Linked DNA regions of Homo sapiens: all the other regions are linked to region 1. The links are contacts of gene promoters, found by promoter capture Hi-C in blood cells and fetal thymus (Javierre and others, 2016). All regions are on one chromosome and are shown on one strand. The core of a region is centred on a gene start or on the middle of the fragment in contact, and the rest is flanking DNA. Distances in the headings are between cores, read along the strand shown. Region 1 holds the start of EDAR (ectodysplasin A receptor). Region 2 overlaps SH3RF3 (SH3 domain containing ring finger 3). Region 3 overlaps SH3RF3 (SH3 domain containing ring finger 3). Region 4 overlaps RANBP2 (RAN binding protein 2). Region 5 overlaps SH3RF3 (SH3 domain containing ring finger 3). Region 6 overlaps SH3RF3 (SH3 domain containing ring finger 3). Region 7 overlaps CCDC138 (coiled-coil domain containing 138).

Evidence for each region. The method cuts DNA at HindIII sites, captures the fragments that hold promoters and counts their contacts. A CHiCAGO score of 5 or more calls a contact.
Region 2: a fragment that was not itself captured here is called in contact with the fragment with the promoter of EDAR in region 1 in 2 of 17 cell types (total CD8 T cells and non-activated CD4 T cells); the score reaches 5.5 in total CD8 T cells.
Region 3: a fragment that was not itself captured here is called in contact with the fragment with the promoter of EDAR in region 1 in 1 of 17 cell types (non-activated CD4 T cells); the score reaches 6.5 in non-activated CD4 T cells.
Region 4: a fragment that was not itself captured here is called in contact with the fragment with the promoter of EDAR in region 1 in 1 of 17 cell types (total CD4 T cells); the score reaches 5.9 in total CD4 T cells.
Region 5: a fragment that was not itself captured here is called in contact with the fragment with the promoter of EDAR in region 1 in 1 of 17 cell types (non-activated CD4 T cells); the score reaches 5.3 in non-activated CD4 T cells.
Region 6: a contact is called between a fragment that was not itself captured here and the fragment with the promoter of EDAR in region 1, in 1 of 17 cell types (naive CD8 T cells). The highest score is 6.3, in naive CD8 T cells.
Region 7: a contact is called between a fragment that was not itself captured here and the fragment with the promoter of EDAR in region 1, in 3 of 17 cell types (non-activated CD4 T cells, naive CD4 T cells and naive CD8 T cells). The highest score is 6.4, in non-activated CD4 T cells.

The regions. Positions count from the first base shown.
Region 1 is chr2:108,987,673-108,990,788 of GRCh38, forward strand. EDAR (ectodysplasin A receptor) reads right to left here and starts at 1,548. Exons shown (of 12, transcript NM_022336.4): 1 at 1,288-1,548. It also overlaps a transcript of RANBP2 not described here. RefSeq lists an enhancer at 21-522. The HindIII fragment of the contact is 677 bases long and covers 1,156-1,832 here.
Region 2 is chr2:109,238,847-109,241,962 of GRCh38, forward strand. All of the region lies in intron 1 of SH3RF3 (SH3 domain containing ring finger 3), which reads left to right. It also overlaps a transcript of RANBP2 not described here. Among named protein-coding and RNA genes, the nearest start is that of MIR4266, 73 kb to the right of the region's middle. RefSeq lists enhancers at 55-144, 185-274. The HindIII fragment of the contact is 1,635 bases long and covers 622-2,256 here.
Region 3 is chr2:109,210,146-109,213,261 of GRCh38, forward strand. All of the region lies in intron 1 of SH3RF3 (SH3 domain containing ring finger 3), which reads left to right. It also overlaps a transcript of RANBP2 not described here. Among named protein-coding and RNA genes, the nearest start is that of MIR4265, 70 kb to the left of the region's middle. The HindIII fragment of the contact is 9,606 bases long and covers 1-3,116 here.
Region 4 is chr2:108,779,513-108,782,628 of GRCh38, forward strand. It overlaps RANBP2 (RAN binding protein 2), which reads left to right. Exons shown (of 29, transcript NM_006267.5): 26 at 1,757-1,917; 27 at 2,616-2,889; 28 at 3,016-3,116. Among named protein-coding and RNA genes, the nearest start is that of CCDC138, 5.7 kb to the right of the region's middle. The HindIII fragment of the contact is 5,453 bases long and covers 1-3,116 here.
Region 5 is chr2:109,169,856-109,172,971 of GRCh38, forward strand. All of the region lies in intron 1 of SH3RF3 (SH3 domain containing ring finger 3), which reads left to right. It also overlaps a transcript of RANBP2 not described here. Among named protein-coding and RNA genes, the nearest start is that of MIR4265, 30 kb to the left of the region's middle. The HindIII fragment of the contact is 6,921 bases long and covers 1-3,116 here.
Region 6 is chr2:109,151,459-109,154,574 of GRCh38, forward strand. All of the region lies in intron 1 of SH3RF3 (SH3 domain containing ring finger 3), which reads left to right. It also overlaps a transcript of RANBP2 not described here. Among named protein-coding and RNA genes, the nearest start is that of MIR4265, 11 kb to the left of the region's middle. The HindIII fragment of the contact is 172 bases long and covers 1,457-1,628 here.
Region 7 is chr2:108,842,316-108,845,431 of GRCh38, forward strand. All of the region lies in intron 11 of CCDC138 (coiled-coil domain containing 138), which reads left to right. It also overlaps a transcript of RANBP2 not described here. Among named protein-coding and RNA genes, the nearest start is that of CCDC138, 57 kb to the left of the region's middle. The HindIII fragment of the contact is 1,764 bases long and covers 593-2,356 here.

The sequences.
Region 1 (3,116 bases), core at 298-2,797:
AGCCTGGCCCACTTAGGGATGGGGAGGGGTACAGTGGAGACCCCCGGCCAATCGCCACCAGGATCGCCAAACTTTCCCAGCCGTGAAGGGTACACGTGGACTGTCATCGGAACGAACGCTTATTTCCAAGCCTTGACCAGAGTCACTCTCTTTTTGGTGGCCTCTGTCAAAATGTATCTTTAAAGGTTTTAAGTGGCTATGACTTACAAATCTCAGAGTATTAAGCCAGGCAAGAAACATTCTCTATTTTAGATGCCTGGATCCCTTTTTTCCTTCAGTCTATTATGGCTCTTCACTTCTTTGTTACACTTTCACTCTTGCTTAGAAAGTGTCTCAAAAATGCCACTTGAGAGCCACAGAGCAGTGGCCTGGGGACTGGGGAAGAGGACGGTGGTGCTCCTGTCTCTCCGTACGTCTCCTCACATGCGTGTACCCCTGGCTGTGTGGGATTGCCCACTGACCGGCATCTGCCCTGCTTGTTGATTTTAACTGTCCCTCTTGTTGCTGACCCAGCACAACATGGGCAGGGAAACCCAGTGGGAACCTCGCCTGCTGACCTCCCTGCCCAGCCACCCGCTTCTCCCTGAGCTGACATCTCAAAGCTTGGCTGCTGCAGGAGGCTGGGAATCAGAGCCGACTGAATCAGAGCCGACTCCTGTCTAGGAGCCCAACCCACCCCACGGTCTGTCAGAGTGTTGAGAGGAACCTCTTGGCTGGAAATGAAAACCTCAATCATCACAAATAGGTACCCACTCCCCTCCTTCTCTCCCTCTCCCCGCTCCCCCGCCACCAACACAGAGGCCAGGATATGGGGGGTCTCAGACACGACTGGAAACCCCACTTGGAAGGTCTCTTAGGTCACAGCGGGTACGCAGAGTTGGAGGCAGGTACAGAGCCCAGCTAGAGTCCCTGCCGCGCCTGCCTTCCCCAGTGAGCCGGGCACAGGGGCAAACCTGAGAAACATACTTTTCACGCTCCCTGGAGGAACCCGTTGCTTCAGTAGCCCAAATCTTAAAGCCTGTGAAGCACACACAGAATTTGTCTCCCTAACCAAATGTGCAACCAACAGCAAAACAGGGTTTCTGATGTTTTTCTAAAACAAAGGAACAATCTCAGGTCTTAGAACTGGTAGCGCAGACATACTGCAATCGGTAAAGCTTGTTCAAACGCAACCCAAAAATGACATGCATTTCAAAAATGCACCCAGCCTCTCTCCCAGCCCATGACACCTCCGTCTCGGCCACAGCTGAAGAGTTTAGAAAACCAGAGGAAAGGACCAGGGCTTACCTGGCTTCTGTTGGAGGTCAGCTTCAGTCCCAGCAGAAGATGGGTCTATGAAGAAAGTCAGGTACCATCCAGTTCTGGGTGACAGGCTTCACAGGTGGCCACCGTGGCAGCCCTCTCAGAAGCAGGTACTCTATGTCCTTAGGGGCCAGCAGGGCTGCCTGGGACCTGGCACACCTCTCTGACACTAGCCCCGCTTCCTTTCCGTTTAAAGGGCTTCCCGGGAACTCTTCCTTGACCGCTCCCTGCCCTGTCTGCAAGTTTGGAAACTCAGTCCTTGCCGAGGGGCTTTCCCTCATTGCAAACTCACCTGCACCATCTAGAGGTCTCTCCCAGCACTGGAGAGGCTGGAGCGGGCACGTTCAGCCCTGCTGCCATAGGTCCCTGGCACACCTGGCTCTCCGGCCGTCTGCCCCTTAAGAGATCTGTTGGAATGCGTAAAAATCATGGATTTTTTTTTTTGCAGGGGTGGGGGCCTTGCTTCTATCAGAGCCTTTAGGCGTGGGAGTGCTAAAAAGCTAAACTAGCATTAAAATATCATTAATCAAAGCTTGTTCGTAGAAGGACCCCCCACTGAGATGGCTACAGGCATGGGTGCCACTGCACGGATTCAGCTTCCAACATGTCTGTTCACATTCTCACCCATCCCCCGCACATCCCTCAGGGTTTGAGCCACCAGGACTGCTCTTCCTTTCCTCTCTCTGGACACCTCACACCACCAGTGTATACCCATGTAACTTCAGATAACCATACACACCCCCCGTATAACTAGGTAATTAGGAAGCCATTTGAAACATCAACATTTTGAAAGGACATACCTTTCAGTATTGGGCAATTATTTCTCAAAAAGTAAATGATTGGGGGGGGGAAAACAGCCTTAAAATAATGTCATTCTCTTGTCATTTTCTCCCTCATTCACACCTACACAGATAAATACAGGAACAGAGCAGCTCCTCCAGGCTAGATTTCTGTGTTCTCCTTTTCCATCTTGTCCCCTCTGCCTTGGAAACCTACAAGGTAACTCACACATGAGAAAGTAAGAGCTTAAGAAAGAAACAGTCTGGGCTCCGTGGCTCACACCTGTAACCCCAGCACTTTGGAGGCTGAGGCGGGCAGATCACTTGAGGTCAGGAGTTTGGGATCAGCCTGGCCAACATGGTGAAACTCCGTCCCTACTAAAAATACAAAAATTAGGCCGGGCGCGGTGGCTCACGCCTGTAATCCCAGCACTTTGGGAGGCCGAGGCGGGTGGATCATGAGGTCAGGAGATCGAGACCATCCTGGCTAACAAGGTGAAACCCCGTCTCTACTAAAAATACAAAAAATTAGCCGGGCGTGGTGGCGGGCGCCTGTAGTCCCAGCTACTCGGGAGGCTGAGGCAGGAGAATGGCGTGAACCCGGGAAGCGGAGCTTGCAGTGAGCCGAGATTGCGCCACTGCAGTCCGCAGTCCGGCCTGGGTGACAGAGCGAGACTCCGTCTCAAAAAAAAAAAAAAAAAAAAATATACAAAAATTAGCCGGTGGTGGCATGTGTGGAGGCTAAAGCAGGAGAATTGTTCGAACCCAGGAGATGGAAGTTGCAGTGAGCCGAGATTGTGCCACTGCACTCCAGCCTGGGCAACAGAGCGAGAATCTGTCTCAAAACAGAAAAGAAAAGAAAAGAAAAAAGCAGACAGAAATGTATGGGGCTGGGGCAAGGACCTAGACTGTAAAGGACTAATTCTGCCTCCACAGAGATTAAGCTGAACCAGAGTTACTTAGCTGACTTGATCCTTGTGGATGATTAATCTAGATAATATAAGCTCCCAAACAAGAATTTTAACTTGAATTTTC
Region 2 (3,116 bases), core at 189-2,688, 250 kb after region 1:
GGGGCAGTCCCTTCTCTCTGTCCCAAGGGAGGATACAGCTCCACTGTGGTCACTGGCTCTATGTGAGGGGGTGCATGCATCAGAGACAACAGATGAGAGGGCCCTTCAGTTGGCTTTTCTGCCTCCAGTTCTTTCTGTTCATGAGAGGAAAAGCTACTGGTAGACAGAACAATGTTAAATGTAATAAAAATAAGCAAGTTCCCTGGGTTTATGCAGTGCCAAATGTCAAGATGGTTGTATACAGGAGAAGACGTCCAAGACACGTCTTTTCCGAGTGTCCCAGAGCTCAGAACTCTGTGAGCACTTTGAGCTTCCCCAGACCTCTTTCTTCCCTGGGTGTGAGCCCTGCACAGTGCTCCGAAAAGAGCTGGGGTCCGTAAATACGGATGGCAAACAGCTCACCTGGGTTTCTCACATGGATTTGTTTTCTTGGGGGTCTCTGTATGGAAGCTTTTATCCCTTCCTAGGGGGCTATAGGAGTATTTTTGTTAAGATTCAATGGGTCATTTCCAAAGTAGTCATTTCTTTCTCCTCACACAAAAATGAACTGAATAAGAATAAGGATACAGTTTTCTAGTGAAAATTGGGGTCTTCCCTGCTCCTTGCCTCCAATCAAGTAAAAGCTTTTTAGAACAAACGGACTACAATATTCTGAAGTGATTTTGAATTTGGCCCCATATTTGACTCTGCGGTCCGATGAGGGACACGGGGTTAGTGGGCAGACACCATTGTTTGCACACACGAGACTGGGTACAGAGCCAGGCGTGATCATCCAGGATAACAGGGAGGAAAGAGAGGCCGATGAAGCCACTGATTTTTAAGAGCTTTCTTGGTGGAGTAATAGATTTTAGGGAGGGAGTTGCTCTGCCAAGTGCTCCAGCTTAAATGGAGCCACCTGTGGAAAGGAGCTGGCGGCACTGCTGTGGGAGTCCCTTGTCTTTGGGAGGGGTGTTTCACGGCCACCTGCCTTTCATCCCCACAGCTCACAGCAACTTACAGAATTTCCGACCGTCTCCTTGGAGACTTAGAGAAATGTGTGCTGAAGGTGAGGAGTCACTCAATCACTGGCAGCCAGGCGGAGGTGACTGATAGCAAAATGTGCTCTAGTTGTAGTGGGGCTTGCAGCTGGGTATCCTCTGTGGAATGCTTGCTGGCTCATGATAGATGAGTCACTTGTCTGTAGTGGTGGCCGGGGCTCTGGCCCAGACCCTTCTCTGTTTTCTTATGTGAGTGAAGGCTGTTGTATTGCATAGTGGGTGAACCACACCTGGGGATTCTAGACTTGGCACTGCCCTCTCTTCTTGTGGAACCATGGATCACCCATTTATCACCTCTGGGCCTCAGTTTTCTCACATGCAAAATCAGGGTTGAAGCCAGGCATGGTGGCTCACGCCTATAATTTCAGCACTTTGGGAGGCCCAGGAGGGCAGATCACTTGAGGTCGGGAGTCCAACATGGTTGAAACCTCATCTTTACTAAAAATACAAAAAAATTAGTCAGGTGTGGTGGCTCATGCCTGTAATCCCAGCTACTTGGGAGGCTGAGGCAGGAAAATTGCTTAAACCTGGGAGGCGGAGCTTGCAGTGAGCCAAGATCGCACCTCTGCACTCCAGCCTGGGCGACAAACAAAAAAACAAACAAACAAAATACAAACAACAAAAACTAAAACCAGAGTCAGGGTTGGGCTTGATGGTCCCTATCAGTAGCAGAGTCCCCTGGTGTGGCACTTTGACTTGTGGATAAATAGGTTTTTCATTGCTGCAGTTTCAAACCTTCAGCTTCTCTAATATCCCCTGCCACTGACGGATTATTTCACACGAACCAGAGAGGCCATTAGGTGAGAATGCCTTCATCTTCCCTCCCTCCCACCTCTGAGCACCCTTCTGTTTCCTTCTGAGCTTCTTCCTATTTCCTCCTGTCGTCCTTCTCCTCTCTAGACCCTGAGGGGTTTCTCTTCTCTTCTAAGGTTACTTCTTCCTACTGGACTCCTGACACCCCCACCCCCACCCCTGCCCTTGGGAACTTGATTCCATCTCTCTCTCTCTGTCTCTCTGTCTTGCTCCCCGCTTCTTTTCTCATGTTCCATCTTCTTTCTCCCTCACCTCCTTATAATCCACATCCAAACAAGTCCACATCTCCCCAAAAACTCCATGCCTCCCTTTTGGCCAAAAAGAACTCTATAGAGCATCAGAAGAATAATTACTAAAAATATATGTTTAAAATAAGTGGCCTTAGTAGTAAGCTCTGAGAATGAGAAGCTTCATTGTCTAGTAAGTTAATACAAATTAGTCGACAGTCAATGATGACAAGAAGAGAGCGAAATAAGTTTGTACTTACATACCTCAAAACAAAAACTCTCTGAAAAAGCAGTTTGTTTGTCTCTTGACCTAACAATTCCAGCCTAAGAATATAACAACAACAACAGAAAAGACAAATTCATTTGTAGTAATGGCCATTATAAAAGATGGACGGATATTGGAGCATTTGAAGTGGAAAAAAAGTATACAAAATTCATCTTGCTGTGGGACCCTCTCCCCTTTTCTAGGGCCATATGGGTATAGATGCATTGGGGGAAAAAATGGCTGGAAGAAATACTTTAGGAATGTCCTTTTTTTTTCTTTATATCTTTTGAAATTTCCTACATAAGCTCGTATTACATTTTGTTGGCAGAAAATCAGATTTATAACCATCCGTCCTCCCTCCCACACAACCTTCTTCCCTCCCACTTGGCCTCAGGCATTGAGGTTTGGCTTGGTTCGGTCAGCTCTGCTGGGAGGGCCCCTGGGACTCTCTGTCTCCCCGCCTCGCCATGGTGAGGGTTCGGCAGTTCTCTCCCCCAGTCCCTGCAGTCCCTCTTCTCTGGCTTCTGTATCTGCCAGTTTTCTGTTCCCACCCTGCGTGTTTCCCTAGTGTCTTGAATAATTTTTTTTTTTTTTTGAGATGGAGTCTTGCTCTGTCCCCCAGGCTAGAGTGCAGTGGTGCGATCTCGGCTCACTGCAAGCTCCGCCTCCCGGGTTCACGCCATTCTCCTGCCTCAGCCTCCCGAGTAGCTGGGACTACAGGGGCCCACCACCTCTGCTTGGACCTGAGACACGATGTTCCCCAGAGTGCTGCTT
Region 3 (3,116 bases), core at 315-2,814, 220 kb after region 1:
TTCATGCTGAATAATATTCCATTGTATGGCTAGACCACATTTTGTGTATTCATTCATCTGTTCACAGACATTTGGGTGTTTCTGCCTTTTGGCTGTTGGGAATAATGTCACTATGCGTGTAGGTGTACAAACATCTGTTTGAGTCCTTGCTTTGAGTTTTTTTGAGTATAGACCTAAAAATGATATTTCAAGATTTTTAATGTCACTGATCTGTGAAGTCCAAAGCGGGAAAGCCTGGTCTTTTCCGTGCTCCCTCGTTTTGTCTGTAGGCATTGAGCACAGTGAGGCTACATGTTGTTTTCAGAGTTGCCCAGCAGCCTGGAGACTGCTGGAGCTGCATCCCAGGGAGACAGTGGCTGGAGTAACACCAACCAGACAATGAGATGGGACATCTGGGGCTTTCAAGAGCTCAGGGCAAATGGCCTAAGCAGGTGGCTCTGCAGGTGTGGATTGTGTCCAGCTCAGGGAAGTGCCTGGGCCTGGTGGGGCCTGGAGTAAGGGGAGAGGTGGGGTCTGATGAGCTTACTCCAGGTGGGAGGCCCAGGAAGGAGGTTGGGTTTTCCTCCCGGGGTTCTCTCTGGGTGTAGGCAGGGAGGAAAGGGAGAAATGCTGTGAATTAGTCGACTGCTTCTCTGGCAAGCACGACCTATTTCTAAAGCATGAGTCACTACAAAATGTAGCTTTTTAAATTTAAAAATCTATTTACAACCTAGGTGAGAAATCTTTATTTTAATTGTGAAGGAAAACACAACCCCACTTGACACGTGGTGGAATTGCTGCTGTCCTTTCCTGTCAGAGCCTCCCAGTGGGCTGGGTTTGGGGATGGATGGGGTGCACACCCGCTCTGCTCAGTTCCTTCTTCCTCCTGGCACACGGGTTGATGACAGCTCTTCAGTTGAGTCTGTTCTGCTCTGTCTGGTAGGGAGCACACCTTTTTGGTTAATATGCCCATTTATGTGTGTCTATGGGGCCTCTGGAGAAAACGTTACTTGCAGAATTAAGCACAATTAAAGGAGAAGTGAGCCCTGCTGACCTGAAAGCAGGTGGGGGCTGCTCCTTGGCTGGGATAAAAGGCAAGGAGGCAACCCTGATAAATGGCAGCTGGCTAGGTGGTGAGGGGATGTCCTGCCATTTGCAGCAAGGCATTGGTTACAAGCCTGGATTTTGTTTAACATCTTTATTAATAATGCTGGAGGCAACAGTAAACAGCAATTTAATGAAATTCACAGAAGATGCTAAATCAGGAGGTGTTATAAACAGCAGGGAAGCCCTGGCGAGGTAAGAAGCATGGAGCGGAAGGAGTAGGGGCCGTGTCTGAGAAGAATGCAGATGGGCGCAACTGCGGTGGAGGGGGAGCCCAGTCTTCCAGGTATCCAGTAGGAGCGGATCAGCAAGCTCCGGGGCTGTCACAGAGCAGGCAGCTACGTGCTGGAGAGCACAGCAGTGGGGAGCATTAGACAGACAGATGCACATGAGCCCTTCGGCCCTTCCTGCATTTCTTTCTTTTTTTTTTTTTTGAGATGGAGTCTCGCTCTGTCACCCAGGGTGGAGTGCAATGGTGCAATCTTGGCTCACTTCAACCTCCGCCTGCTGGGTTTAAGCAGTTCTCCTGCCTCAGCCTCCCTGAGTAGCTGGGATTACAGGCATTCACCATGCCCAGCTATTTTTTGTATTTTTAGGAGAGACAGGGTTTCCCCATGTTGGCCAGGCTGGTTTCAAACTCTGGACCACAGGTGATCCGCCCTCCTCGGCCTCCCAAAGTGCTGGGATTACAGGTGTGAGACACCGCACCCAGCCCCTTCCCACATTTCTGTTACCTCTTTCTAGAAACCTGAATGTGAATGCCACTGAATTCAATAAATGACTGATTGAGCACCTGCATTGGTGTAACTGGTGGGCTTTGCGGAATTCCAGGGAGATAGCGAAACTTGGAATGTAAGCTGGTGAATGGGTGGTTGGTGCGGCTTGCCGGGCAATGGTCCGAATCGAGCCTCTGGGTGGCTGTGGTTTTGTTTGGCTTCTGGATGACTTGTCAGGGTACCAGCCACTGGTGTCTGATCTGGGATTTTCTTCCTCCTCTTCTTGACTCCTCACTTCCCTCCAACTCCATGAAATGAGGCTGCCCAGAAAAGGCTGAAGGAAGTCAGTTGGCTCGCTATGGAGGAGGGGCAGTTTTCAATTAGAGTCTGACCATGTTGTCGGGAAAGTAGGGGACTGCTTTGGCTGGTTATACGTGACTATAAATCCCAACTTGGACAGTATTTCATTTAGAATCCTGACAAGGAAAAACAATACAAAAGTCTCAAAATGAATTTGTTAGCAACCATCCTGACTGCATTGTGAGGCTTTCCGACAGCTCCAGGGAGGTTGGCTTGAGGTAGCTTTGCCCAGCTGGCTGGAGAAATGAGATCAAGTGGAGTGGCTTGAGGAGAAGTCGGCTGACCCACACATTTGACAGATCTTTTGGGTTCATTGATCTTTGTCAATGTTTCTTCTCCAGATAGCAACCTCCCTTTTCTTGTGTTAAATGGACTCACCTGATTGTAATCACAGAACTAATTGTTGTATAATAAAGACCCATTCTCTCTTTGCCCGTGGCCCAAAGCAGCCTTCTCCCCCACCCGTCAGTTCCCTCTGCCCCTGGTATTTCCCTGCTGGAGGAGTTAGACCTCCTGGTGAGCTGGTGTGGGGTAGGTGCCATACCAGGCTGGGCACTGGAAGAACAAGGGTGGATCAGACACAGTCTTGGCTTTATGGAACTTCTGTTGGGTGGGGGAGAAAGATGATTGGAATATAGTGGATGATGAAAAGACAGATGCTGCCCACACATCCCAGGGAAGCCCTGTGCTGAGCGGTGTGCAGGTGTCGGCAGCAGGGTAGGAGTGCACTCTGAGCAGGTGGAGGATGCAGTCCTGGGAAGGCTCGGAGGAATCTGAAAGCACAGTCAAGCAGTTGCATCACTTTGGGTGCTCTGGGCTGCAAGTCATGAACACCCAGTTTTTAAACTGGGTTTAAACCACATGGGCGCGGTTGCTTATTCTCTTCCTTGGCAAGAACTCTGGAAGTAGGTGGTCCCAGGGCTGCTTCTGAGCTCAGTGATGTACTCAGGACATGGC
Region 4 (3,116 bases), core at 462-2,961, 210 kb before region 1:
TGAAAGAGAGTTGATTTTTTATTGTGTTCTTTAAGGTACTGAGTTATGTATCCTGTGACATTTTTTCTTTTTCATGAGAGTTTTTAGCAGAAGGTGTAGGGTTCTTTAAGACAGTGATTCAGCAAGTGATAAAAAGTTGAGAGGTGTTTCTTTCCTCTAAGATAGTGGGGACTTGGTCATCTAAATTGAGGTATGGGATGGAGAAGTTTCTAGTTTTCACCTTCTTGCAGGTATGCGAGAGTGAGACCATCATTGTTCCCCCATACAGAAGTAGGATGCTTAACAATCTAATACCCTTTGGGCAGTTGAAGTCAGTGAGATTCTCCCAAGGCTGCTTTCCACCAGCCCAACCAAGAAATCTACATTCCAGCATTAGCTTCTTCAGGAAGAAGTAGAGATGCAGAAATTATAAACATGTTTAGGCCATTGTGGCTAATTTGGAAGTAGCAGGTTTGGCCTGCTGAGCTAAGTTTACAAAATTTCAAGGTGGGTACTTGAAATTTTAGAAGTAGGTAAAAAGAACCTACTTCTTTACTTGGAAGTCCTTGTGTAGTTTAGTATTAGGAAGTTTATCCAAGGCAGTGACAGTCTTATCTTTGTATCGCTAAGCATAACAATAATAAATGTACTCTGTACTCAACAGTATGAGTTGAATTTACTAGCTTTTTTTTTTTTCCTTTTTTTCCTTTTTTTTTTTGGTGACAGAGTCTTGCTCTGTCACCCAGGCTGGAGTACAATGGCACGATCTCTGCTCATTGCAACCTCCGCCTCCCAAGTTCAAGCGATTCTCCTGCCTTAGCTTCCTGAGTAGCTGGGATTACAGGCACCCGCCACCACGCCCGGCTAATTTTTTTTTTTTTTTTTTTTTTAAAGACAGAGTCTTGCTCTGTCGTCCAGGCTGGAGTGCAGTGGGGCGGTATCTGATCACTGCAACCTCTGCCTCTCAAGTTAAAGTGATTCTCCTGCCCCAGCCTCCTGAGTAGCTGGGATCAGTCACCCATGACCACACACTGCTAACTTTTTTTTTTTTTTTTAAAGACAGAATCTTGCTCTGTTGCCCAGGCTGGAGTGCAGTGGGGCAATCTCAGCTCACTGCAACTTCTGCCCCCCAGGTTGAAGCGATTCTTCTGCCTCAGCCTCTCAAGTAGCTGGGACCACAGGCGCATACCACCACTCCCGGCTTTTCTTTTCTTTCTTTCTTTCTTTTTTTTTTTGAGACGGAGTTTCACTCTTGTTGCCCAGGCTGGAGTGCAATGGTGCCATCTTGGCTCACCGCAACCTCCGCCTCCTGGGTTCAAGCGATTCTCCTGCCCCAGCCTCCCGAGTAGCTGGGATTACAGGCATATGCCACCATGCCTGGTTAATTTTGTATTTTTAGTAGAGACGGGGTTTCTCCATGTTGGTCAGGCTGGTCTTGAACTCCTGACCTCAGGAGATGCGCTCACCTCGGCCTCACAAAGTGCTGGGATTACAGGCGTGAGCCACTGCGCCCAGCCTAATTTTTGTATTATTAGTAGAGATGGGGTTTCACCATGTTGGCCAGGCTGGTCTCGAACCCCTGACCTCAGGTGACCTCGGCCTCCCAAAGTGCTGGGATTACAGGCGTGAGGAATTTACTAGAATAATATAATTTTAAACATTTAAAATTGATGTACATATTACATCATCAGGAATTAGAGGGATTGATAAAATAAGAGGGGGATGAAAAATGTAAAAAATAGATACTAGTGTTTAAATATCCTGATTTATTCATCAGATAAAAATTTCCAATGGGCAAATACTGGAGCAGCTGTGTTTGGAACACAGTCAGTCGGAACCCAGTCAGCCGGTAAAGTTGGTGAAGATGAAGATGGTAGTGATGAAGAAGTAGTTCATAATGAAGATATCCATTTTGAACCAATAGTGTCACTACCAGAGGTAAATGTTAAGGAATTAACCTTTTACTAATAACTTATTTTTCATTTTTAAGTTTTACCCTGGCTTGATCTGTCAGGGTATAATTGTTTGCATTTAAGAATGTTTACTGTTTGAAATGGAAGCTCTATTTATTAGATGTCTAGCCTTTAAGTATAAATTATCTTTTTACAGTTTTTACATAAATATTGGTTTGTAAATTCTATATGTAATTATTGGTAAGAAATAATTTTTTCTTATGTTTCTAGAATATCATGTTTGTTTTTATAACATGATTCTGGGGAAAAATTAACCTCATACTCACTAAAGTCCTTTCAATAAATGTTAACCTTGTATGTTTTTTGGACAAGAACATTGTTCTAGGAAAATTACTTTGTCATTTTTTAACCTCAGTCAGTAGCTAATATTTCTCTTCAGTAGCAAACACTTTTGAAACCTCTCTGTCCTATAAAGAAAAGCATTTAATTTCCAAAGGGAAAATGAATATTATATAAAAGAAAATGTTTAATGATAAATCAGGTCTTTACTCCCTCAGCCAAATCAGATATATTCCTAGCCCTAAGATATATAACCAGTTATCACATTAACAAATTCTCTTTGTCATCACAAAGAAAATGCCTTAAAAGAATTTGGATCTTTGAAATTTGTCATGGAATTTATTATAAGCAGCAGCTTATAGAGAATTTCATCTCCTATTATAGGTAGAAGTAAAATCTGGAGAAGAAGATGAAGAAATTTTGTTTAAAGAGAGAGCCAAACTTTATAGATGGGATCGGGATGTCAGTCAGTGGAAGGAGCGCGGTGTTGGAGATATAAAGATTCTTTGGCATACAATGAAGAATTATTACCGGATCCTAATGAGAAGAGACCAGGTTTTTAAAGTGTGTGCAAACCACGTTATTACTAAAACAATGGAATTAAAGCCCTTAAATGTTTCAAATAATGCTTTAGTTTGGACTGCCTCAGATTATGCTGGTGAGTTTTTACATTCAAATGCTACTTTTCATTTTTTGGACTTTTCTAAAATCTATAACAAACAAAACAACTTATAACAGTTATTTTAATACTAAGGTCACTGCTTCCCCTTTCCCTCCCTGCCAGATGGAGAAGCAAAAGTAGAACAGCTTGCAGTGAGATTTAAAACTAAAGAAGTAGCTGATTGTTTCAAGAAAACATTTGAAGAATGTCAGCAGAATTTAATG
Region 5 (3,116 bases), core at 256-2,755, 180 kb after region 1:
TCCATGAACACAGATGCTCCCTCCCACTGGCACCTGGCATGCATGGCAGGTGCTTTATATTGAAGTGCAGAAGTATATGAGTTTTAAATCTTTAAGAGACTTTAATGTTTTACTTGATAACAAAAGAAACATCACATCCTATTTTCCTGAATAGTCCTTTATCTTCATATGGCTCATAACTGTTATAGTTTTGATAATCATGGCATTTTGGCCAAAACACTTTGCCAGAAACTATAATCTCTACAAGTTTCCTTAGGCTATGAAGGTGTTTTAGAGGATTATAATTTTACATACCCCTAATACCATCGTCGGCTCTTGTTTCCTTATCTGCAGATGAACGAGATGTTTTCTTTCTCTCTCTTTTTTCTCTTCTCTTCTCTTCTTTTCTTTTCTCTTCTCTTCTCTTCTCTTCTCTTCTCTTCTCTTCTCTTCTCTTCTCTTCTCTTCTCTTCTCTTCTCTCCTCTCTCTCTCTCCTCTCTCTCTCTCTTTCCTTTCTTTCTTTCTTTTTTGACCACATCTTGTTCTGTTGCCCAGGCTGGAGTGCAGTGGCACAATCTCGGCTCACTGCAACCTCCGCCTCCCGGGTTCAAGTGATTCTCCTGCCTCAGCCTCCTGAGTAGCTGGGACTGCAGGCGCACACCACCATGCCTGGCTAATTTTTGTATTTTTAGTAGAGATGGGGTTTCACTATGTTGGCCAGGATGGTCTCGATCTCCTGACCTCAACCTCGTGATCCACCCGCCTCGGCCACCCAAAGCGCTGGGATTACAGGTGCGAGCCACTGTGCCTGGTCAAACAGAATATTTCCTAAGGGTTCATCCTGCTCCACAGTCTGAGGTTGTTATTTGTTAATTAAATAAATATTTGTTGGGCATTGACCATGTGCCAGGCACTGGGGCTCAAGGGGTGCGGATGACCCATCTGTTTCTCTCAGGAAGCTGACATCCAGGTGCACAGGGCATAGTTTACCTGTGAACAGAGAGGGCGCTTTTCTCCCCTCAGTAAGCTACCTTGCGTCACCTTCCTCTGTTCAAAGAGGACTGATAAATCACCTCACTAAGCAGCTGTTGCCTGCAGGTAGCCCACACCGGGCTGGGTGCTGAGGCACAGAGGCACACAGGGCGCTCCCCACAGGAACCAAGCCCGGGAGGCACACCTGCATGCCAGGTGCTGGGGGCTGGGGGAGTCTGTGTCCTGGTTTGGTTCATGGGCATCCTGGTTTTATGTAGCTCACTTGCTGTGTGACTTATCTCTTCCTCAGTAATCTGCAGCACCTAGATCATTCAGGTTTTGTTTTGTTTTATATATATGTACATTTTTTGGTTTATTTATGTATATAAAGTACATACATCACCAAATATAACCATATTATGGCTGTATTTGCTTACATGTATTTGGTTGTTTTGGTTATATATGTAGAGTTGAATGTCCTTTTATTTCCTTGTCATATCTATTTCTTATCTATAGCCTGTTAAGAATTCAAAGTTTTTGTCATCTCTATACAAAATGATGGCTATTTGTTGTTAGTGACTATGAATATTCGGAGAAAATTATCTGCATATTGACTTGAAATACTCTTCCTAACAAAAATGCTTCCCCTCCTGCTCCACGCTTGCCCCCCTACCCCGACCCCTCACTGCTGCTGGGCTCGCGGGTATGGTCAGCGCTGTGGCTTCGCCCGCGGCGGGCCAGGGAAGTGCATTAGAACACGGAGCACAGGGAGCTATTTCCTTCTCGCCGCCCCTGGTCTGTGCAGAGCTGCCTCTGAGACATTTCCTGTGCGGGAATGAATCCAGGGCTCCAGGGCTGTTTAGTCTGGGCCTTTGGGAGTTCGGTGCAGCTAATGCCTTCCAGAGGCCCAGCCCCTGCGCCTGGCGCTGCCCTCCTGGTGCCCACGCTGGCTGGCTCCCTGCCGTGCATCCCGGCCACGCTCACTTGCAGCGGGGAGTGGCTGCCTGCCCCAAGCTGGCCTGTCATCCAGGAATGAAGATGTTCTATTTGTGTTTTATATGGATTCACTTTGAAACTCCCATTCTGTGTTCCCATAAAGGGCATGCATGTGCCGAGCCCAGCCTTGACTCCCTCCTTTCGCTGTGGTGAGCTTGTTTATTTTCAGCGTGATTCTCAGCTGAGTCGCCCGTTTCCCAATAAAAGGCAGGGCCCAGCACTGTGGGCTCCATGAGGGCCTGTTTGGTTGCTTGGTTTGGAGCACGAGGGAAAACTTGATATGCACGTCATTTCCCAGTTCCAGGCAATGACCTGGGGCAGAGCGGGTGGGGAGCAGGTCTCCCGGAGCCATCTGGAATATGCCGATGAGTGAGCTGTGCATTAGCTCTCAGACCAGGGTCCTCTGGCAGCCAGGCCTCTGAGCACAGCGTCTGAAGTATCAGCCGCCACAGGGATCTGTGGGCAACAGCTGCGTGTGGCCTGTGCTGTTTCTCTCCTGACAAGGACCTTGCAAACAGCGTGGAAATGCGCGAGCCAGCGGTCAAACCCCTCTTCACCATGCACGGAGCTCAGCCGTCCTCTCCCTGCTCCTGGAGGTCTTCCTTTTTCTGTGACTGTAACCTAAAAACATTAAAATACGTTTATTGAGATAGCAAACTTTTATCCTCTTGGTGTTTGCAGTGAAAATAGTCCTTAATGGTGTAATTTTCCTTTCTTACCTCCCTCCGCTTGTCCCGTCCTAGCTCTTGTTATTCCAAACAGTGTGGATTATTGGGCTGCACCTGGCCACCCAGGCTGGTGTTTTGAATCAGCAGCATCACCTCTCCGGAGCCCATAGCAGGAAGCAATTGTTTGGGATCTGATACTGCTGGGCTCTCATTTTCCTTGTCTTAGAAATGGGGACACATGTCTGCCCATGTTGAGCTCTGGCAGGGATGCTGGACTTTTTGTCCTAGCTAAGAAACCAAACTGCATGTGGGTTACGGAAGTGGTCTAAGTTTCCCAGTGCCAGCACGAAGCCTCGACTGGTGAGTATTGTAGAAGAGCACTGCCTTAGCTGAGTCCAGTATTTCTCTTCCAAAATAAACGTGCATGTTCAAAGCAATTGCTTGTCTGTGGGTATAACTGTTGTGTGACTGGTAGCTGTGGGAACACACTGAGTGTCATG
Region 6 (3,116 bases), core at 293-2,792, 160 kb after region 1:
ACATATTTAATTTAAAAATTTCTGGTAGCCACGTCACAAATGGTAAAAAGAAATTGGTGAAATTAATTTTAAGAATATATTTAACCCACTGTATCCAAAATATGTCGGCATGTAGTTACTATGAAAACTTATTAATTTGCATCCTTTCATCCATGCTGAGCCTGAAGCCCATGTGTATTTCACCCCTGCAGTACATCTGAGGTCACACTTCCCGGTTTCCAGGGCCCAGTAGGCATGTGGTGCCCACAGGTGGCTGCTGTATGGAAAGGCTCAGCTCTGACGGATCAGACCACTTCAGATATCATAATAAAGTTCTGGCACCAGTGCACTTTTTATGACTCTAATAGATTTGCATCTGCAAATTGTGGTTTATAGGCAACAATATGACATTTCCTATGATTTCCGAATTGTCATCATGATAGAATCTGCAGAGGACTGCAGGAATTTTTGGTTTGAAGTTAATATAATAACAGCCTGGAGGGCTTATAAAATGCATGCTGAGAAATTGGTCTGAAACCCAGATTGAGGATATTTTTCATACCCAGCTGATTATTTAAATTTCCCAATGGGAAGTTATTACTTCTCTGACAAGTCTCATCAGCAGTCTATTTTCAGTGGTCTTGATGGACATGGAGTCTAATTTTGTTTTTCTCCTAGCCTCTTTTTGGAGAGGATGAAATTTGGTGTCTGGAATTACATTTCTTCCTAGGAAAAGTGCTCAGCGTCTTAGAAATAAATTATCACAAAACTGTCACCTGTCAGGTGGTTCATTTTCCGAGGTGACAGGCAGTACCTATAATCACGGGAGGTGGGCATGTTCCCCTTGTTGTTGTGGTGTGTCTTTATAGTTGTGGGGAATGTGGGTGGGTGGCCTGCCCTTTCCCTGGTGCATTTGGCAAATCCCTCTTATATTGCTTTTGTTAGCTGACATGTACAGCAAATCAAATAAATAATTCTGGGCTCCGATCTCAAGTTGAGAACGAGAGCATAATAGCCTTGTTCCGGGTGCCTGATGGGCCTACAGTGGCATTACAGCATTCAGAGCGAAAGCTCATTTACTGGAAACAACGAAGTGTTTGAAAGTTCACTGCATGGAAATTGGATTTTTGCCTTTTTATTATTTACATTGTGTATTATCAGATTTATATTTAAAGCTGTGGGGATTATCATTCTCTTTAAACGGCATTATTTAATAAAGAGTAAGCATTTCATGGTTTCAAGACTGCTGAACCCAGCTCATCATTGGAAATTCAATTAATGGGTTCCAACTTGAGTAGGCATGGGCAGAGGGGCGGGGGGGACCCAGTGTCCCCTCCCAGGCCCGATGGCCTGATGGTGGGGTGCCTATCACCGTCTCTCACATGGGCCCTCTCACAGTGAATATCACCTGTCTTTCAAACTTTAAGAGTAAATCTTAGTACTTGCTCCTTGTTCTCGATGGAGGCACGCAATTGAAAGCTTTAATCTCTGGGATGAAAACTTCTGGGAAAGGCAGTACTTTAGTGTGAAGTCATTGTTGTTATGATGCAGCTGAGTTTGAGCCTGTCTTAGAAGCACGTTTTGATGGGCAGAAATGGACCCAGTCTACAGACAAGGGACCATCTGCAAAGACAAGACAGTCACTGTGAAGCTTTTGTCAGAAAACCCATTCCCAATGGAGGGGGAAGGAATCAGTGGGGCAAATATTTCAATGGAACAGAACCAGCATCTAAACTTATGCACTGCAGCGTTCTGCTAAACCCTGCTATGGGTGAGGCTGAATGAGTACATTCATTTCTAATAAAAGAAATTACATTAATTCTTGAAGGGAATGTAGGTGTTTAAGCTGTCACTGGAAACCCATTTCTGAGAAGAAGCTAAAATTGCATGCCTTTTTTTCTCTCTTCTTCTTAGTGATTTAAAAAAATTTGTATTTTTGCTGAGGTTTGGAAAGGCAATTACGCTGATTTTGCCCAAAATTTGGACAGATTAGTTCTGCTGAGAAAGAAGTAACGAAGGTATGAAAGGACATGAAATAACTGAAACTTGCCAGGAGAAATATTAAGGTCAAAAGCAGAGGAAGCATGGGCTCGGCTCAGTGTGCAATGCCTTATCACCGGGTCACCTGCCCCAGGAGGTGGGCCCGACAGATGCCCTGTGTGTGTGGAAGCTGCCGCTGTGAAAGAGTGTGGCATAGTAAAACATGAGATCACCCCAGTTATTTTATTTCTGACACACTGGGAATGAATCTTGATCTAGTCTCCAGGGTGTGTACTTGTCTGCTGTGCGTTTTGTGCTGAGCTGGGTTCTGGTGCATTTTGGCTAAAGCCACATTAACCACCCCCCGACCCCCGATGCCACCATCTTGCTGGAGCTGAGATTTCCTGCAGACCTGCTTCCTGAGGGCTGACTCCTGGTCTCCCACTGCTCTGGGACATTAGCAGTCGGGACTTGCTACACCAGTTGCAGGGCCGAGGACAAAATGAAGTGCAATTATAAAATTATTAAGAATTTCATTACGTGACCACAGAGCATTAAGCCAAATTTGGGCGGCAGCCAAGTGACCTGGTCAGTGATTCTGGTTGGTGGACATGGAACTGCAGACAAGAACCTTCTGTGTTGATGCATCAAAGTATGAACACTGTCAATATGCTGTGGTTGCCAGACTTTTATCTCGTGTGTTTAAAACTGGTTTCTAGAGCTTTGTCTTGGTTAGGGTTCAAAATGTCATCCCTACATGGGGCTCAGCAGATGGGTCTAATCAGGCCTAGCATCCATGTGGTGCTTTCTGTCATTTCTGGCCTCACTTGGGTGACCACATTGGATGGAAGCTGGGAAATGGAGGGACCAAGGAAGGGAGCCCCTGTTTCCCAGCTTGGGTAGGTGATTGGGGTTATCATGGAGGGGGTGGTTTTGGGGAAGCTTCTGGGTAGGGAGTACAGATACACAGAAGGCCCCCCAGCGCTGCTGCCATTGTCTGCCAGTGTTGAAGCTGCAGCATCATGGGCACGGCTCCTGGGAAGGGACCACCAGCCTTTTTGAGGGGCCAGGCCTCGAGGCTTCCTCAGCTGGCTTGAATTCTTCACTGGTGAAGAAACCAAGGCTCCCTAAGTTTGAATTGGCCCTAGTTCATGGCC
Region 7 (3,116 bases), core at 225-2,724, 150 kb before region 1:
GACGTGAGCCAACCCATCTGGCTGAAATAAAGAATTTATTACTTTTAGGTCCTGGGAGTTACATGGCAAACCTGGAGTCCACATACTTGGAAGTCAGGAAGCACAGGCAGGGAGAGAGAGCGAGAGAGAGAGAAAGGGACCTGTGGGCAAGTGCCCTTATTGGAGTCCAGGATGTTACCCATACAGGTTTTTCACAGGCTGTTTTGTTTGTTGAGTTTAAAGCAAGCAGACATGAGTTCTAGGAGGTAGTCACTGTGGCATGTTCACACAGTCCGTAGTGAGGTGTGAGGGTCTGTGAGACAAGTTGTGCGGGCTTCATCTAGCTATTCCATAGGGAAGTGGTCATTAGGGAGGAGTTGTCTAAGGCAGATATCTGAATCAAACATATTTAGGAACTGGGGGAGGGGATGGGGATTTAAAACTGGAAACAGTGTTAAAAGTGACTGATCCCTGCTTCTAGGGTGAAAAAGTCCAACTTACATTTAAAATGAATGCCAGGGCAACATCAAATTATAAGCATTCACTACAACATTATGTAGAACTTATTCAGTCTATTGGTATGGTCATTTTACCGGTTTGAATAAAGCACAGAAGCTTTACTTCCCTTTTTATCCCTTAACCTTTTCTGTATACGCTTAGAACCACATTAGAGAATGTTACCATTTTTGCTTCAACCGTCAAACAGAATTTATAGAACTCAAGAAGAGAAGGAAAGTTTATTGTATTTACCCATATTTTTGTTTACTATGTTCTTCTCTCCTTCCAGATGTGCCACAGTTCCCTCTTTCATTATATCCTATCTATCTGTTTAGAGGACTTCTTTATCTGTTCTTTAGAGTAGTTATTTTTCTTTTTCTTTTGAGGCAGGGTCTCACTCTGCTGCCCAGGCTAGAGTGCAGTGGCATGATCTTGGCTCACTGCAACCTCCGTCTGCTGGGTTCAAACCATGCTCCTGCCTCACCCTCCCAAGTAGCTGGGATTACAGGCGCCCACCACCATGCCTGTCTACTTTTTGTATTTTTAGTAGAGATGGGGTTTCGCCATGTTGGCCAGGCTGGTCTCGAACTCCTGACCTCAAGTGATCCACCTGCCGTGGCCTCCCAAAGTGCTGGGATTACAGGCATAAGCCACCGCACCTGGCCTAGAGTAGGTTTGCTGATGACACAAACTCTTAGTTTTTCTTAACATATTTTGATTTCCTTTCAATTACTGAAGGATATTTTCACTGGGTATCAGATTCTAGTGTGACAGTTCTTTACTTTCAGTACTTGAAAAATGTGCCAATTCTTTCTGCCCTCCATGGTTTCTGATAAGAAATCTGTCATTTGAGTTATTTTCCCCATATATGTAAGGTGTCATTTCTCTCACACACATTTGTCTTTAGTTTTTATAAGTTTGACTATGATGGGTCTTGGTGTTGATCTCTTTATTTTAGCCTGTTTGGTGTTTGTTTAGTTTCTTCAGTCTCTGGGCACGTTTTTTGCCAAGTCCAGGAAGTTTTCAGTCATTATTTCTTCAAGTTCATGTTTTGTGTGTGTGTGTGTGTGTGTGTGTGTGTGTGTGTTTCTTTCTTTTTTTTTTTTTTTTTTTTTTGAGACAGGGTCTTGCTCTGTTGCCCAGGCTGGAGTTCAGTGGCACAATCACGGCTCACTGCAGCCTCACCCTCCTGGGCTCAAGCTGGGACCACGGTCATGTACTACCTTACCTGGTTAATTTTTTTTTGTTTTGTAGAGATAGGGTCTCCCTATGTTGCCCAGGCTGGTCTTGAACTCCCAGGCTCAAGCGATCTTCCATCTTGGCCTCCCAAAGTGCCGGGAGTGCAACCGTGAGCCACCGCCCCCAGTTTCTTCAAGTGCTTTTTCAGCCCTACCTGATTTTTCCTTTCCTGGACTCTAATGACGTGATTTTAGATGTTTTGCTATTCCTTGAAGTTCTGGTGGTTGTTGTTATTTTTCCAGGTTGTTTGCAGTTGTTCAGGTTGGGTGTTTTCTGTTGTTTTATTTTCCAGTTATTCTTTCCTCCATCCTCTCCATTCTGTTATTGAGACTGTTATTGTATTTCCAGTTCTGAAATATTCACTTGGTTCTTTTTCTATGTCTTCTTTGGTAAGACTTTCTGTGTCTTCGATGAGATTTTCTAAAAGCGTATGCAGGTGTTCCTTTTGTCATGGCTACTTTAGAATCTTTGTCAGACAATTCTAACATTCTGTCCTGTCGGTGTTGGCAGCTGTTGATTGTCTTTTCTTCATTCAGTTTGAAATCTTTCTGGTCCTTGGAATGGTGGGTGATTTTAAATTGAAAACTAGACATTTTGGGTCTAGATTTGTTTCAGCAAAAGTTTTAACATCCTTAGGTGAAGCTTCAGCAACAACCCAGAGTGCTATTTTTGGAGTTTTTTCTCTTTTCCTTCAATTAAAGGCAAATACTATCCACATTTTTTTTTTTTTTTTTGAGACAGAGTCTTGCTCTGTCATCCAGGCTGGAGAGCAGTGGCACGATCTCGGCTCACTGCAACCTCCGACTCCCAGGTTCAAGCGATTCTCCTGCCTCACCCTCCTGAATAGCTGAGATTACAGGTGCACGCCACCAAGCCCAGTTAATTTTTGTATTTTTAGTAGAGACGGGGTTTCACCATGTTGGCCAGAATGGTCTTGATATCCTGACCTTGTGATCCGCCTGCCTTGGCTTCCCAAAGTGCTGGGATTACAGGCGTGAGCCACTGTGCCTGGCCCACATTTTTTTTTCAAGTTTATTTTTTCATTATAAAAGTGTAGTAGTAAAGCATTAGAGATAATTTTAAAAACAAAAAAAGTTTACCTTAATCCTGTCATTTAACACACTTATTGTAAGTAGAGTTTTGAACATTTTTTTCTATTTTTTACACAAAGGTTTAAAAACATGTATTTTTTTTCTAATAATATAAAAATTGTACTGACAATATATTTAAATTAGATTGCACTGCTTGTGTGTCTGACCACTCAACCATTTGGCCTTTGTCACCTGTAAAACCTCAATAGATTTGTTTTTAATTTTAGATGCAGAAATTTAAAAGCTAAAACTTATCCACATTGCAGGATCAATACTGAGTTAGGAACCAGTTGGTCACAAATTTTCATG